2 separate regions of the Homo sapiens genome follow, and region 2 is linked to region 1. Evidence: promoter capture Hi-C in human tissues and cell types (Jung and others, 2019). All regions are on one chromosome and are shown on one strand. The core of a region is centred on a gene start or on the middle of the fragment in contact, and the rest is flanking DNA. Distances in the headings are between cores, read along the strand shown.

What was found. Contacts are between HindIII fragments. The study calls those that stand out against the background at their distance.
Region 2: a fragment that was not itself captured here is called in contact with the fragment with the promoter of CDCP1 in region 1 in 1 of the 25 tissues and cell types used here (H1 embryonic stem cells).

What each region holds. Positions count from the first base shown.
Region 1 is chr3:45,143,691-45,151,119 of GRCh38, forward strand. It overlaps CDCP1 (CUB domain containing protein 1), which reads right to left and starts at 2,688. Exons shown (of 9, transcript NM_022842.5): 1 at 2,516-2,688. The coding sequence starts at 2,597. The HindIII fragment of the contact is 13,721 bases long and covers 1-7,429 here.
Region 2 is chr3:45,508,870-45,516,298 of GRCh38, forward strand. It overlaps LARS2 (leucyl-tRNA synthetase 2, mitochondrial), which reads left to right. Exons shown (of 22, transcript NM_015340.4): 16 at 4,266-4,366; 17 at 7,225-7,407. It overlaps LARS2-AS1 (LARS2 antisense RNA 1), which reads right to left and starts at 676. Exons shown (of 4, transcript NR_048543.1): 1 at 488-676. RefSeq lists a silencer at 748-1,042. The HindIII fragment of the contact is 5,198 bases long and covers 332-5,529 here.

The sequences.
Region 1 (7,429 bases), core at 1,438-3,937:
ATTGATAGCCAGGGAGAACACCCAGAAGAGTGTGTGTGTGCACATGCAAGGCGTGCAACCATCATAGATGAAATGGCAGCATCTGAGGTGAGCCCTAGGGCTAACAGGTCTGACTCCAAGTCATGCAAATCTGTGGGGATGTGGGGGAGGAGATGGGGGAGACTCATCAGCGCTACCAGTTACACATTCCAGACAACAGCCAGTAGCTCCTCATTTGAATCGGAAACAGAATGAACACCCACACTCACCCAGGGAGTGTGAATATATCATTTGATCTGTCTGCTCACATTTTTGGCAAGAGACAATGGTGGCAAGATTGGGGTCACTGACCCAGACTCTGGTATCTGAGTGGTTCTTAGAAAGCAACCAAATGGAGGTTTTCAAAAGGCTATGATCCCAATGTAACCAGTGTTTCACTCTTGGAAATGGGGGAGTTGGTGGGGATACCAAAGTCACACAAACACACGACACCAAGACACAAACTTTCCTTTACTTTTCATCTCTGCAGTGACACCAAATTCATTTTTACTCTGCTGAGTCTTTCTTTGTTAAGAGACTTCATGGATTTATAAAACAAATCCACTGTGCCAGGGCTCTGGCTTTCTGTATCCTTTCAGGACAGTCTCCAGGAATTTCTCAAAGGCCTTTGCCACTTAGATCCTCAAGACTACAGGCAACTACTCCAACCACAAAAGCTCTCAGTTCAGCCTGATGTACCCTCAAAGGGCCAGTTCCTGAGACCATAGGGAGGAACTTAAGAAAGCGAAAGGGAAAGTTCCTAGGTTTCTACGTATTTATGTATTGAACCATGAGACAGGGCTCAGCCAGTCAAGGACTTCCTGGAAGGGACTCCATTGGAGTTACTGGACCAAAATGGCAGCCTTCCCAGATCACAGGGAGAAATGAGACCAGGAACAGAGGCTCTCATTATTAGCAATGCCTTGATTAACACCCTGTTCTGACTGGAAGAGTTCCCCACTGTTGTCACAGAAAGCCAAAAACATCTCAGATAATTCCCAGAGTTTCAATACTGTTCCAAGACTGGTAGGCACGCATTTTTCTCAGCACACATATACACATATTTTCACTTCCTTTTTATTCTTAAACTAATTCTTTTTCTTCAAAGGGAATCTTGGAAATTCAGTCCTAAGAAATTATAGTAAATATTCATCAGCCAGGCACAGTGGCTCACATCTGTAATCCCAGCACTTTGGGAGGCCCAGGTGGGAGGATCACTTGAGCTCAGGAGCTCGAGACCAGCCTGGGCAACACAGTGAAACCCTGTCTCTACTTTAATATATATAATTTATATATATATTTATAAATCCATGCCATGGTTTAAATGAAGTTTTAAATTTTCTATCTACTATGCAGCAATATGTCACCTGATGTTGGAGAATGAACCAGGAAGTATTCCTGGAGCTTATATTGATATTTTAGAAGCTCCTGTCTTGTATTTGTAAAGACGGCAGTCACCGGGACGCCCAAATTCAACCTCACTTGCGTCCTTTTATTCCTTTATCTAATTTACACCTGCCAAACACAAATCCACCCTAGATGCAGCAAGGGGAATCAAACCCACATGGCTTCCTGGAGAGCTCTATTTAAAAAACACAAAACCTGTACTAATCTCGCGAAACCTGTACTAGCCTCACATCAAGTTCTTACATGAAGAAACCAGGTTATTTACTACGTTCTAATACATCCAGGGCCCACAGGGCATTTCCTGGCTGGCACAGGTCACTGGGACGTGTTGGTCCCTTCCCCCAACCGAAACAACTCGAAATTCACACATATCCCCGGAACAACAGCCTCCTGCCCTCAAAGTCCACTGCCAAAAAGTGCGAGGGGCGCGGGAATGTCCAGTCTCTGCGGTGGCGCAGATGCCTGGCGGCTTTCTCTGGGACCCCCTAAAAGAAATCCGGGCGCTTTCATTTTTGCACCAACGCTCTTCAACTTTAGGAGAGGGGGAATGCAGCGTGCGGACGGGAAAAAGGGGATCTAGTGGGAAATGCGGACGTGAAAGCACTTTTTTTGCACCTTCTCTCTGGACCAGGCGAGGAGGTAGAGGGCGAGCCTGGAGAGGAAAGATCTCTTCCCACACCCTGCCTGGGTGCTTTCAAGAATCCCGGCAAAGACCCTGGGGCGCACGGCGCGCCACCTTGGACATGTCGCCTGGGATCGGCTACCGGGAGCTCCTTTTCCCGCCTTCTCGGCCAGCACCGGGCTCATCCTCCCGGACCGGGAGGCTCCCCGATCGGGGACACTCTCACGTGCCGAGGGCAAGGTTGACTCCAGGAGGGCAAGGCCCACGCGCCCGACGCGGCGCGCGCAGGAACCGAACAGTCCGGGGGTCCCGGAGCCACCCGCGCATTTTGACTACGCCGTCCCCGCCCTCTCTCCGCACCCTCCGCACCCTCCGCACCCTGCGTCCCTCGGCCGCATCTCCGCCGGGCGTCCGCTGGCTGGCTAGCTCACCACTCCACGCCATCCGCCTCCAAAGCCCGGCACTCACCTGCCCCGCGCGGCAGGCGCGCCGCACCCAGCAGCAGAACCCCTAGCAGTGCGATAGAGACCCCGCAGTTCAGGCCGGCCATGACTCCGGGACGCCTCGGCCTCGGTGGGGAAAACGACGGTGGGGAGCGGCGGCCCCAGGCGCCCAAGCCCGGCGCAGCTGCGCTCCGCCCTGGCTCACTCACCTGCGCGCGGGCGGACCGGCCCGAGCCCCGCCCTGCGCAGCAGGATCGCGAGCTGACCCGGTGCGTCCCTCCTCTCTCTCCTCCTCCTCTTCCTGCCTCAGCGACCGCCTCTCCCTCCCAGGGTGCAGGGCTCCCGGCACCGGGTTGCTGGGTCCCTACTACTCCCCATTGCGGCGTTGGAGCGGACTTGTCCCCACCTTTCCGGGCTTAGTCTTCCTTCCCAAGTCTGAGAATGATGAGGTCTTTTTCTCCAGAGTCGCGAAGGTCGCCCATAGAGGAAGCCAGTCTACCTTCCCTTTTCTGTCGAGGAGACAAAGGCCATTATGCGCCTCGTTTTGGAGAAGAATCCTATTTGTGGGCCACCCAAGCCCTGGATCCTCTGCTACTTGACTTGGGCCAGAGGTCTGTTGGACTTTAAAGCCGGTGGTGGTACAGCTAGTATTTGCAGGACGGTGAGCCTGCAGCCTACTCCACACACATCACCTGCAGTATTTCCAGACACGCAACGTGTCCAAGGTCCCCAGGGTAGCTAGTAAATTAGAGGCAGATGCACCACTTCGTTGAATTGTGAGTAGAGTAGTATGCATCCCTTCACTGAGCTGTGGATGGAGTAGTATGTGCCCTTCTCGAGTTGTATTATAAATGGAGTAGTGTGTGCAGTGTGAGCGTGAAGCATTCAGGTCAAACGTTGGGCTGGAAAATGAATGAAAAATGAATGGCGCTGGACTCCTTTTCCAAATCCTCCCAGCCGCAGGTGTGCCACCTGCCTGTCTTCAGAGGCCCTGTGGGTTCTCCTTCCACCCTGCCGGCCATACACCAAGTCCAGGCCACAGGCAGAGATTGCGGATGGTTCAGGAGTTCTTAGCTAGCAGACCTGGGTTCTGCCAGAATGACTCCCTGGGACTACTTGTGTTCATGGATAGCCAGAAGCTGGGCCAGAGTCACCCGGAGCAACCTGGGAGGCTTGGGACAGGAACCAAAGCATGTGCGACAGCATCAGTTTACAGTCCAGTCCCAACTTCTGCTTAATTCTTGCGGGCACTGAGCCTCTCCAGGCTGCCCCAATCCTCCTTGTGGACAGGGGTGGGAAATCATCTCCTAGGAGCGTCACCCCTTCCTTCTCGATGTCCTTAATCATGAGAATAGAGCTAGCTCTGCCCTCTGGGAGCCCACAGTCCATCGAGGGAGGCAGAACTTGGAACATGACCCTGCCCACACCCCCACCTCTGGGAGGGCCTGTATCGTGAGCTAAACGGGACCTTAGATGTAATCTTCTAGTCCACTTCTGTCCTTGTGCAGAAAAATGGGAAAACTGAGAACTAGAGGGAAGGGAGAGGATGAGAAACGAAGAGAGGCTCTTGGTTCTCCCCACTGAATCGAGGACAAATTCATCAAGAGAAAGAAATCTTGACAAAAATCTAAACAATCTTTAAAAATATTTATGCTGACCAGGAGGGTGAAAGGAGATTTGTCTTTTCTCCTGATTCTAAGCAGGCATATATATCCCAGCATCTTTTCCTAACATCCATGACACCATTGTTTCCCACATACAGTAATACCCACAACAGTACTAGAATGGCAGTGTATTGAATGCAAAATATCAGAAATATTGCTTGACAAGTTAAGCCTAAGGAACAAGTTATTTCCTTACTATTTCGTCTCTCCAAAGTTTGCTTAACTGTCTTTCTTGGGATAGTTGACACCAGCTTTCTGAAAATGGAATGAGAGTCACTAATTCCCAAATATGAAGCATTGGTGGTGGTTCCAGAAAGTAGCAGCAACGAGAAAGAAGAAAATAGGGAGGCACTTCAGCATCCTTTGCGTGACAACCCAACTACATAGTTGAAGTAAAGATGTCCTGACATACTGTCCTGGTCCTCCAAGTGGAGTGTGAACAAAGCATTGCCAAGAATGGACATGTTTTGTCTTTACAAACATGGCTGAATGGAAGGAGTAAATTTTAAAAGGTTATTTCTGAACTGGAAAGCAACGTAGGTAACTATAATCTAGTGCTAGAGAGAAATGAGAGATTGAAAGGTAAATTTTCGGCTGGGTGCAGTAGCTCATGCCTGTAATCCCAGCACTTTGGGAGGACAAGGTGGGTGGATAACTTGAGGTCAGGAGTTGGAGACCAGCCTGGCCAACATGGCAAAACCTCATCTCTACTAAAAACACAAAAATTAGCCGGCTGTGGTGGCGGGCGCCTGTAGTCCCAGCTACCCAGGAGGCTGAGACAGGAGAATTGCTTGAACCTGGGAGGTGGAGGTTGCAGTGAGCTAAGATTGCACCATTCCACTCCAGCCTGGGCGACAGAGTAAAGTTCTCTCTCTAAAAAAAGAAAAAAAAAAAAAAGGAAGGTGAGTCTTAAAACAGACTGTCCCATCTAATTTTGACCTCTTCTGAAACCCTGCAAAGGCTGTAAAACAGGGATTAAAAAAAATTACATAAGCCCACAAAGGTGGGAAGAACAGAGAGAAGACAACAGCAAAATCACCCTGGAAGCTAGACAGCAGCTGGACTAGTGGTAGCTGCCTTAGGAGCCTGGAGATGGCAGAACCCTAAGCCAGTAGTGGGGAAAACTCAGAAATAACACGATTAACACAGAAATCCTCAAAAAAGATCCTCAGGAAATGGCAGCACAAGGTATTCTGCAACTGGAGGGTGAAAGAGGAGTTAAACAAGAAAGGCTAGAAGAAAGCTGTTTGAGAAGTACTGTGGTTAGATCCCAGAACCCATCCATCATTACCCTTGCCTGGGCAACAGTCCCTCGTCCAGCTTCCAGTGTTGTTCTTGAGAAATCCAAAACCATTCTCATTTTTATTATTTTCTTTGAGACCCTTTTCTTGCCTCTAAAGCTGTAGAATCTTCTTTTTGTTCATTGGTTTCTGAAATTTCACCATAATGTGCCTTGATGTGAGTCTGCCTATATTATCGATCTTTAGATCTTGACAAGTTAGAGGGTTGGTAAGCTTAACAACTTTAGTGTTGTCTTCTGGAGAGATTAAAACCTAGGGATGTGGGCTGAGGGATGCCAGGCATAGCTGAAAGCATAGGAAACATTGTAAAAGTAGGTAAATAAAGGGAAGATATGCATTCTGAATGCTGAGATCCCCAGCTGTCTGGCCCCAACCTGCATCCAAGGATGAGACAAAAAGGCTTTGTTATCCATATTGGGGATGGAAAAAGTCTTCTTCTGGGGAGTCTGACCAGCACAGGAGGAAAGACCCAAACATATGGACATTAGACCCTCATAAACAGGCCAACCAGCTTCCTACCATGAGGCTTTCAATTAAGCCCCACCAACTTAGCTTTTTAATATCTCATTTTAATTTTAATTTTTATTTATTTATTTTTTTTGAGATGGAGTCTCGCTCTGTCACCCAGGCTGGAGTGCAATGGCGCGATCTCGGCTCACTGCAACCTCTGCCTCCCGGGTTCAAGCGATTCTCCTGCCTCAGCCTCCCAAGTAGCTGGGACTACAGTTGCACACCACCACGCCTGGCTAAGTTTTGTATTTTTAGTAGAGATGAGGTTTCACCATGTTGGCCAGGCTGGTCTCGAACTCCTGACCTCATGTGATCCACCCACCTCAACCTCCCATAGTGCTGGGATTACAGGCGTGAGCCACTGTGCCTGGCCAATATCTCACTTTTAAACATGAGCAATCAGGATTTCAGGATATCTGAGGAGAGCTTCTAACATATTAGAGTCAAAGCCAACCAAGTAACCAAACCGAGAAAAAAGAAAGAAAGAAAGAAAGAAAGAAAGAAAGAAAGAAGCAACCTGAAAGACTATACAAAGAGAAGAAAATAAAAGGAAGCAAAACAAAAAAATTACTAACTCTCTTAGAGTGATGTAGGCAACTATAATTTGGTGTCAGACAACATTCTCTCTGTGAAGCAGGAACAGCATGTTATAAAAAACAAAACAAGGCCGGGTGTGGTGGCTCACACCTGTAATCCCAGCACTTTGGGAGGCTGAGGCGGGTGGATCACCTAAGGTTGGGAGTTTGAGACCGACCTGACCAACATGGAGAAACCCTGTCTCTACTAAAAATACAAAAAATTAGCCAGGCGTGGTGGTGTGTGCCTGTAATCCCAGCTACTCAGGAGGCTGAGGCAGGAGAACCACTAGAACCCAGTAGGCAGAGGTTGCAGTGAGCCAGGATTGCACCACTGCACTCCAGCCTGGGCAACAAGAGCGAAACTCCATCTCAAAAACAGAACAAAACAAACAAAAAGATTCAGAGAACCACAAAAGAATTATTGGAAATGAAAAAAAGTGATTGTAGATAAAAAAAATAATAATAAATAAATAGAAGAGTTAGAAGTGCTCCCAGAAAGTAAAGCAAAAAGACAAAGAGATAAAAAGTAGGAGGGAAAAGTAAAGAAAATTTGAGGTCCAGTTCAGAAAATCCAACATCTGAAAAATAAGTTTCCTAAAAAGAGAGAGCAGATGAAACAGAGGAGACGACATCATCAATAATATAAGTGAAGAAATTCTCCAGGCCTGAATGACATGAGTTTCCAGATTAAAAGAGTCATGGAGTGCCCTGCACAATGGATAATATAGGCAGACTCACGTCCAGGCACATCATGGTGAAATACCAGAAACCAATAACGAAAAGAAGATTCTAGGCCAGGCGTGGTGGCTCACGCCTATAATCCCAACTATTCCTGAGGCTTAGACACGAGAATCACTTGAACTCTGGAGGTGGAGGTTGCAGTGAG
Region 2 (7,429 bases), core at 1,681-4,180, 370 kb after region 1:
CTTTCCTCCCCTCTTTCCCTGCCTCCCTCCCTTCCTTCTTTCCTTCTTCCAAGTGGGACAAATGTGGCCTTCAATGCCCAGCAGCTATCAGTTGTTGCAATTTCTGAGTTAGTGCAGTCTAAACTAATGAAGAAATTGTGAAGATCTCCCCCCAGTTTTCATCACTGTGCTTACATATAGCTGTGCTTCAGTGCAAGCAAGCATGATCTACCTCCAGGGATGTACCGAAGGAGTAGGAAGAAAGCTGACTCAGAAATCCAGGGCCTTCTTCAAGGCAGAGGCCCTGCCTAATACTCCCGCGTTTGATGGTCCCTGAGTCAGAACGGTTTGTTAGTGGTTTAGAGTTGCAGATTTTCCACTCACTTATAAAGGCCCCTGCTGTGCACAGTCACTATGATGAATGAATAACTCAGTTGCATACGCAAGTCTGTTCCCAAGTACCATCTGTTGAGTGAATGAATGAGTGAACAAAAGGGAAACACATTACCCCAATTGTGAATCTGAATAATGAACTTGGCAATGTGATGTGATCTCTGCTCCAGCAGGCCTGGGTTCCAAGTCCAGCAGGGCCCTTGATGTCCTTTGTCCTTCATTCCTGTGCACCTTGCGCCTCCAAATCACATTTGGTACGTCTTTCTTGTAGTGCTGATGGTTATTTATGAGCATGTCCTGGGCTGCCTGTTCTTATTGTAAGCTCTCCAATTAATTGCCTAGTGCTGTGTACCCAATTATCATGTAAATACATGTTGAATGAATAAACAAGTGTGACTCATTCAGAGCTAAACTACGCATGAGAGTAGACATGGCCAGCTTCAGCCAAGAGTGAAAACCAGATTCCCAACTCCCTATAGCCCATTCCCTGGCTCCCTGGAAAAGTGGAGGGAAAACACTTGGGAATGAGCAGGATTCTAGGAGCTGGGAAGCGCCCCTTTCCCCACTGGGAAATTCCATGTGAGCACTCATCGGGGCATTCCCCTGCTCTCATTCTCTTGCTTCAGCTGCTTGGGATCTTTCAATGCACCCCTCCCTGCAAAAAGATGGTGGCACTAGCTGGAAAGTATAGCATCCAGTGCCCCACTTCACTCATTTCTTTCTTCCCTCCTCTCTTGCCTCCACTTTGTCCTACTCACATTATCCCCCACCCCTGCTGCTGGTAGGTTTATTCATCCACTGAAACAAGCTTGATTGAGTTCAAGGCAATTAACATTACTGAGCATCTGTTAGGAACTGGAGACTGAGAGTGGCCTTTAAGGATTTTCAAGGCCAGGAGCAGTGGCTCATGCCTGTAATCCCAGCATTTTGGGAGGCCGAGGCAGGAGGATTGCTTGAGCTCAGGAGTTCAAGACCAGCCTGGGCAACATAGTGAGACTTCATCTCTACCAAAAATACAAAAAATTAGCTGGGTGTGGTAGTGCGCGCCTGTGGTCCCAGCTGCTTGCAGGGGTAAGGTGGGAATATCACTTGAGCCCAGGAGACTGAGGCTGCAGTGAGCTGTGATTGTGCCACTGCACCCCAGCCTGGGTGACAGAACAAGACCCTGTCTCAAAAAAAAATCATCCTCCTACTCCTCACAGGAGAAAGACAGGCAAGCAGCTTACCTAAATACACAATAAAATGTAATAGCTGCTAGATACAATTACAGGCACTACACAGGATGCATCAGGAAGGAAAAAACAACTAATTCTAATTCTGACCAGGAGATACCTTCTCAGTGGAGATGGCATTTGAGTTGAGCCAGGAAGGAGGACTAGAGTTTTGATAACAGTTTGGGAAATGGCGTGAGTAAAGACGTGGAAGCACATGCAGGCAACATTTGAAAGAGCAGAGGGAGTGGCAGGGGACAGGGAGAAGTCCTGGATGGCTATGCGGAGGAATTTGGACTTGATTGGGAGGAGGAGCTCTTCAAATATGACTGCACTCTTTCTTTTCCTCCCTCACAGCTCTGAGAGTTGTCAGGCATTGGTTTGGTTCAGTGATCGTAAACAGGCTGGCTCCCCAAGGGCAGAGATTGCTTTGCCCAACATTATATCCCCAGTGCCTAGCTCAGTGCCAGGCACATAGCAAGCACTCAAGAAATACCAAAGAAATAAGTGATACATTTCACATAATAACTCTGTGCTTTCTGATTATATGGTACGAAGAAGAATTCAGAGACTCGTTCTGAGCACCAGGAGTGCTGCTGTCGATGAATGGTGTCTGGGTGGTTGTAGGCAAGGGCACTGGGGATAGTTGGCTAGGTTTTGCCATCCCTGCTCTAGATGATCCATCTGAGATGGCCCCTGCTGCACTGCAACCCTCAGAGAAGACAGTCCAGAAGAGCTTCAACTGTCAAGTTTCATTGTTGGAAGCTTTCAGACATTAGGATATATTCATGTAACTAGCAGGTCTTGGTGTGGGTGCACTGCTGAGGACCTGCCTGCCAGTTCTGGGGAAAGCCTCCCATGTGGACATCCCCTGAGAGCTCTCACTAAGAAATGGCTACAAGCGGGTTAGAAACAGGCAGATGAAATAATAGTGTTAGCAGTCAGGCTATAGGGGCCCATAGTGAGGAGACAGTGCCTAGAAGCGGATGGAAGGTTGATTTCACGTTCTGCTAATTGGGCTGAATGCCAGTTACACAAGTGTGTTTTATATTGTGAAGATTCATCATTATACCGCTAGGACTTACACTTTTCAATATGTGTGCTATACCTCAACAGTTTACCTTAAAAAAAAAAAAGTTATAAAAGACGAGGCAAAAGTTGCAGCCTTAGGCTGAACAGCTGGGGTTAGTCAGTTTTTCGCAGGTTGCAATTCTGTCCGTTCTCGGAAGGTGGCAGTGTTGTGCCACTTGATAAAATACAAGACCTAAGAATAGGATTCCTTGGATTCCCAGCCCCTTCTTGAGGCTTAATGCTGCTGATTTTTTTTTTTTTTTTTTTTTTTGGAGACAGAGTCTCGCTCTGTCTCCCAGGCTGGGGTGCAGTGGCGTGATCTCGGCCCACTGCAACCTCCGCTTCCTGGGCTCAAGCAACCCCTGCCTCAGCCTCCCAAGCAGCGGGGACTACAGGTGCGCGCCCCCACACCTGGCCAACTTTTTGTATTTTAGTAGAGACGGGGTTTCACCATGTTGCCCAGGCCAGTCTCAAACTTTGAGCTCAGGCAATCCACCTGCCTCGGCCTCCCAAAGCGCTAGGATTACAAGCGTGAGCCACCGCGCCTGGCCAATGCTGCTGATTTTGATCATCCTACCTATCTTTATCTTTGAATCCAGATCATTCTCTCCTAACTTTTGCCCTAAAAACACCTTTAAAAATTTACCTTGAGCAACCAAAGCCATGTACTGGTGATGTTTGTGGGGAACATCACTGGATCTCCAGGAAATGAGTGCTCCTACCTGATACCCTGAACACGAAATACTTAACGTGTGTTATCAGCAGATATCGCCATGAATCATTCTTTGAGTTTGGAATAGGTCTTGCTGAAATGCCTCAAAATTGAATCAGGCAGATTCTTAAGAATAAACAACTGCAAATTTGCAATAATTTCAGTATGAAGGTCAACCTGTTCTTATCCTCTTATGAGAAAAAGTTTATATGTCACTATTTACCCAGTAAGGGTATAACTAAAACTACTTTTTAAAACAGGTACTATAAATAAGTTATAATCAATTCATATTTCAGAACACTAGGTAACTTTTTAAAAAGTGAGATAGATCTATATGAACTGCCATGGAGAAATCCATTCATATCATTAAGTGAAATACCATAAAGTATACATAAGGTATAATCCCACTTATATAAATCCCCAAAAATCTATAAAAACCATATGTGGATAGGTACACATTTATGTATACAAAGGCATTGAAAAATGTCTCCAGACTTTTCCAGGGATATATACCAAACTATTAATAAGAACTGCCTCCTGAAAGGGACATAGGCCTAGAAAGGAGTGGTAGTGTTTGGATTTGAACAGAAGGTTTATAGTCATATATGACTTGTATGGTTTAAAACTTTTTTTAGGCCAGGTGGGGTGGCTCACACCTGTAATCCCAGTACTTTGGGGGGCCGAGGCAGGTGGATCACGCCCAGCCTGAATTTATTTTCTTATCACTTATTTCTAAGGAGCCATTTGTTTAAGCTGGGTTTATAAGTGGCCTTGGTCAGCCCGCCTGCTTTTATGAGGGGCAGCTACTTCTGCCCATCCGAGGGAAGGTCTGCGTTGCTGTTTTCTCAATGCCTCATGTCCCACTCCTCCTGTTTTCTTTTCCTGTCATCTTTCCTCAGGGAGCCTTTTCATAAGCTGCTGGCCCAAGGCCTTATCAAGGGGCAGACATTCCGCCTACCATCTGGACAGTATCTACAGAGAGAGGAAGTGGATCTCACAGGTAAGAATGGCCCATCTGGTCCCATCCAGGTACTCCCAGAGAGCCAAGGCCAGGCCTGAGAGCTACTGAGCAAGCAGGCATCTGCCTCTAGAGTGGGGAGGATGCAGGAGAGAGACCCGCTGGCTGTGAGGTCTCTAAGCCTCAGCTCCCTCTGGGCCTGCGCCCCCTGAAGCCTGGTCCTGGACTGGCCGTCTGCTCCTCTGCTGCAGCCCCCTTCAGCCAAAGTGCCACCTCAGCTTCTGGCAGGGTTTTCATTTGTATGTAACAGAGTCAACTCAGGCATGACCTCCTATCCCAGACCATCTTTGAAAGCCCACCTCAGGGATAGAGCCCCCAGGCCCAAGACACATTCTTCCAGAACTGGGGTACTCCCAGTGTTTCTCCCAACATGTTCTAGTGGCACATTTCAGAACCTTGGGGGGCAGCACTCGGTTTACTCGTAGCACCCCAGAGCAGCCCCCTCTTAGCATTTCCCAGTAAAACACCTCCCCCTGATTCCCCGAACTTCCCTCCTGTCCCAGCTCTCCCAAGCCTTTTCCTTCCACTCTGCATTTTCACCCTTTACCCTTTACATTTCACCCTTCATTTTCACCCTGAGGATCACAAGATCTTCAGGTGCCATGGTGAGGATGTATCACGTGCACCCAGCACACACGTGGAATATATGACATGTTAGAAAATGGGTAGGGGCAAGGTGTGGTAGCTCACGCCTGTAATCCCAGCACTTTGGGAGGCCAAGGCAGGTGGATCACCTGAGGTCAGGAGTTCAAGACCATCCTGGCCAACATGGTGAAACCCCGTCTCTACTAAAAATACAAAAATGAGCCAGGCGTGGAGGCATGCACCTGTAATCCCAGCTACTCAGGAGGCTGAGGCAGGAGAATCACTTGAACCCAGGAGGTGGAGGTTGCAGTGAGCCAAGATCATGCCACTGCACTCCAGCCTGGGCAACAGAGCAAGACTCTGTCTCAAAAAAAAAAAAGAAAGAAAGAAAACAGTTGGAGACATGCAGTATACATAGGGACAGCTGTGAGAAACCCCCAGCACTGTGACCATTACATTTAGAAAAACTAGTGCATAATGGATGAGATTAGGTCACACGACAACCCTGTAAATGGTAGGCAGCCTCTCCAGCCAAACATTAGAGACAGGGTTTAGGGAAGCAGTCGATGCAATTACCTCATCAAAGCAAAATATATCAAGGTTTATAACGGTCCGTGGGAGAAAAAGAAGCTGGAGAAGCAGAACTGGCAGTGTCTCTCCAGCATGGATGACAGAGGGAAAGAGCTAAATTCAGGTGCACATAGAATTCAGCCTCACAGTTAGTGAAGTGTTCTCTGTAACAGGCAAGGCTGCCCATGTATAGCTGTGCAGTTTGTGCGCTACACAAAAGAACCAAGCCAAGGCTGTGATTTCAGTAGGGCCTGAAATGCAGCCGTTTCTCAAGCCATACATTTCAGGGCAACATCTGCCAAACGAGGGTGACTTTTTCTAACTTCTCAACTTTTCTGCCCAGAAAGATACATTTTTTCCTAATTTGCATAACAGTGTTTTAAGGTCTAGACACAGCCTGGGGCAGGGTAAAGGGGCCAGTGGTTCCCTGAGTCTCACCACAGCGTGGATAAACATCTAGGACTTCAGTCTCCCCTTCTCTGCTGTCATGGGGTCAGGCAGTATTGTGAACATCTTTTCCCTTCCCACGTAGTCTTGCCTACTGGGTGAGAATACTTTGATCAGCAAGGGCAGGTTTCTGTCTCCTTCATGGATGTAACTCTCATGAAGTATGGAGTTGGCTTTTAGGTCTGTACATCGGTCCCCTGTTAGCTTGGTTGCTGTTGGAATCAGAGATTATTTGGCTGGAAGGAAAAGAAATCCACCCAAACCCAGTTGCAGAAAATAGAGCTAGGCCCCACTGCTCATAGGAAGTCACCAGCCACTCCTTTTTTCTTCTCTCTTTCTCAGCTCTCTCGTTCTTAGTTCTTCTTCCTGCTTCTCTCTGTTCTTCTGCCCTGTTCTCCTTCATCTGCCAGACTTGGATTCTCCTCTCCCCAATTTCAATTTACCAAGTGACCTTGGGTAGCTGCAGTGGCAAGTCTTGCCCCATCTCCTTAGGACCTGATGGTCCCAGTGCTCAGCAACATGGAAACTGAGTTTCTGTATCTCTTAGCTCCAATTTGTGAGATAGAGGCTTAGCCTTGCCAGGTGCTCTTACTAGTCCTCTCCAGTAGGGCTTGGCAACAAGGTCACCTCATCCAAATGCGGCCATTTAAGACCCCTTCCATCAGCACCATCTAGACCAGTGGTATGTGAGTAGGGGAGGAGACAGTTCCAAAGAATAGGGTGTGGGTGGCTGGCACCACAAAGGGACCAACACATTTACCATGAGCCCGGTAAGTGAATTCCATGTGCCCTGAGAGTATGAGATCATGTTTTGGTGACTGCAACATGGATGGGACAGGTCAGGCTGCCAACTTCCATAAGAGACCCTTAATTCATCAAGAAAATGGCAACGTGTGCGAGTTTTTCAAAATTCTTTTTTACTTTCCTTTTTTGTGTATAAATAATTCACTTGTAAAGGGGGAAATTGTTTTGTTTTATAGAAAAAGCTGGCACAGGCCATTATAACTGTCCTGTTTATTCGCGAAGGTTTGTGGGAGGAAGGTGGGCCTCATTCATTTAAAAATAAAAATATTTTTATAACAATACAGAGGGAGAGAAAGCGGCTTGTTAAGTGAATTAGTGTGATTCTTCAAATGGACACTTTCCATCGCTCACCCAGTTTTTACTTATTGATGCTATTTCTATAGAAGCAATTCACAATGACACATACCATACCTATGGATTATTTTGGCATCTAGGTTCCGTTCCTGTTCATGCAAAAACGAAAGAGAAGTTAGAGGTGACGTGGGAGAAGATGAGTAAGTCCAAACACAACGGGGTGGACCCAGAGGAAGTTGTGGAGCAGTATGGGATCGACACGATTCGGCTCTACATCCTTTTTGCTGCCCCTCCTGAGAAGGATATCTTGTGGGATGTGAAAAGTAAGTCACCTTCCTCTTCCTG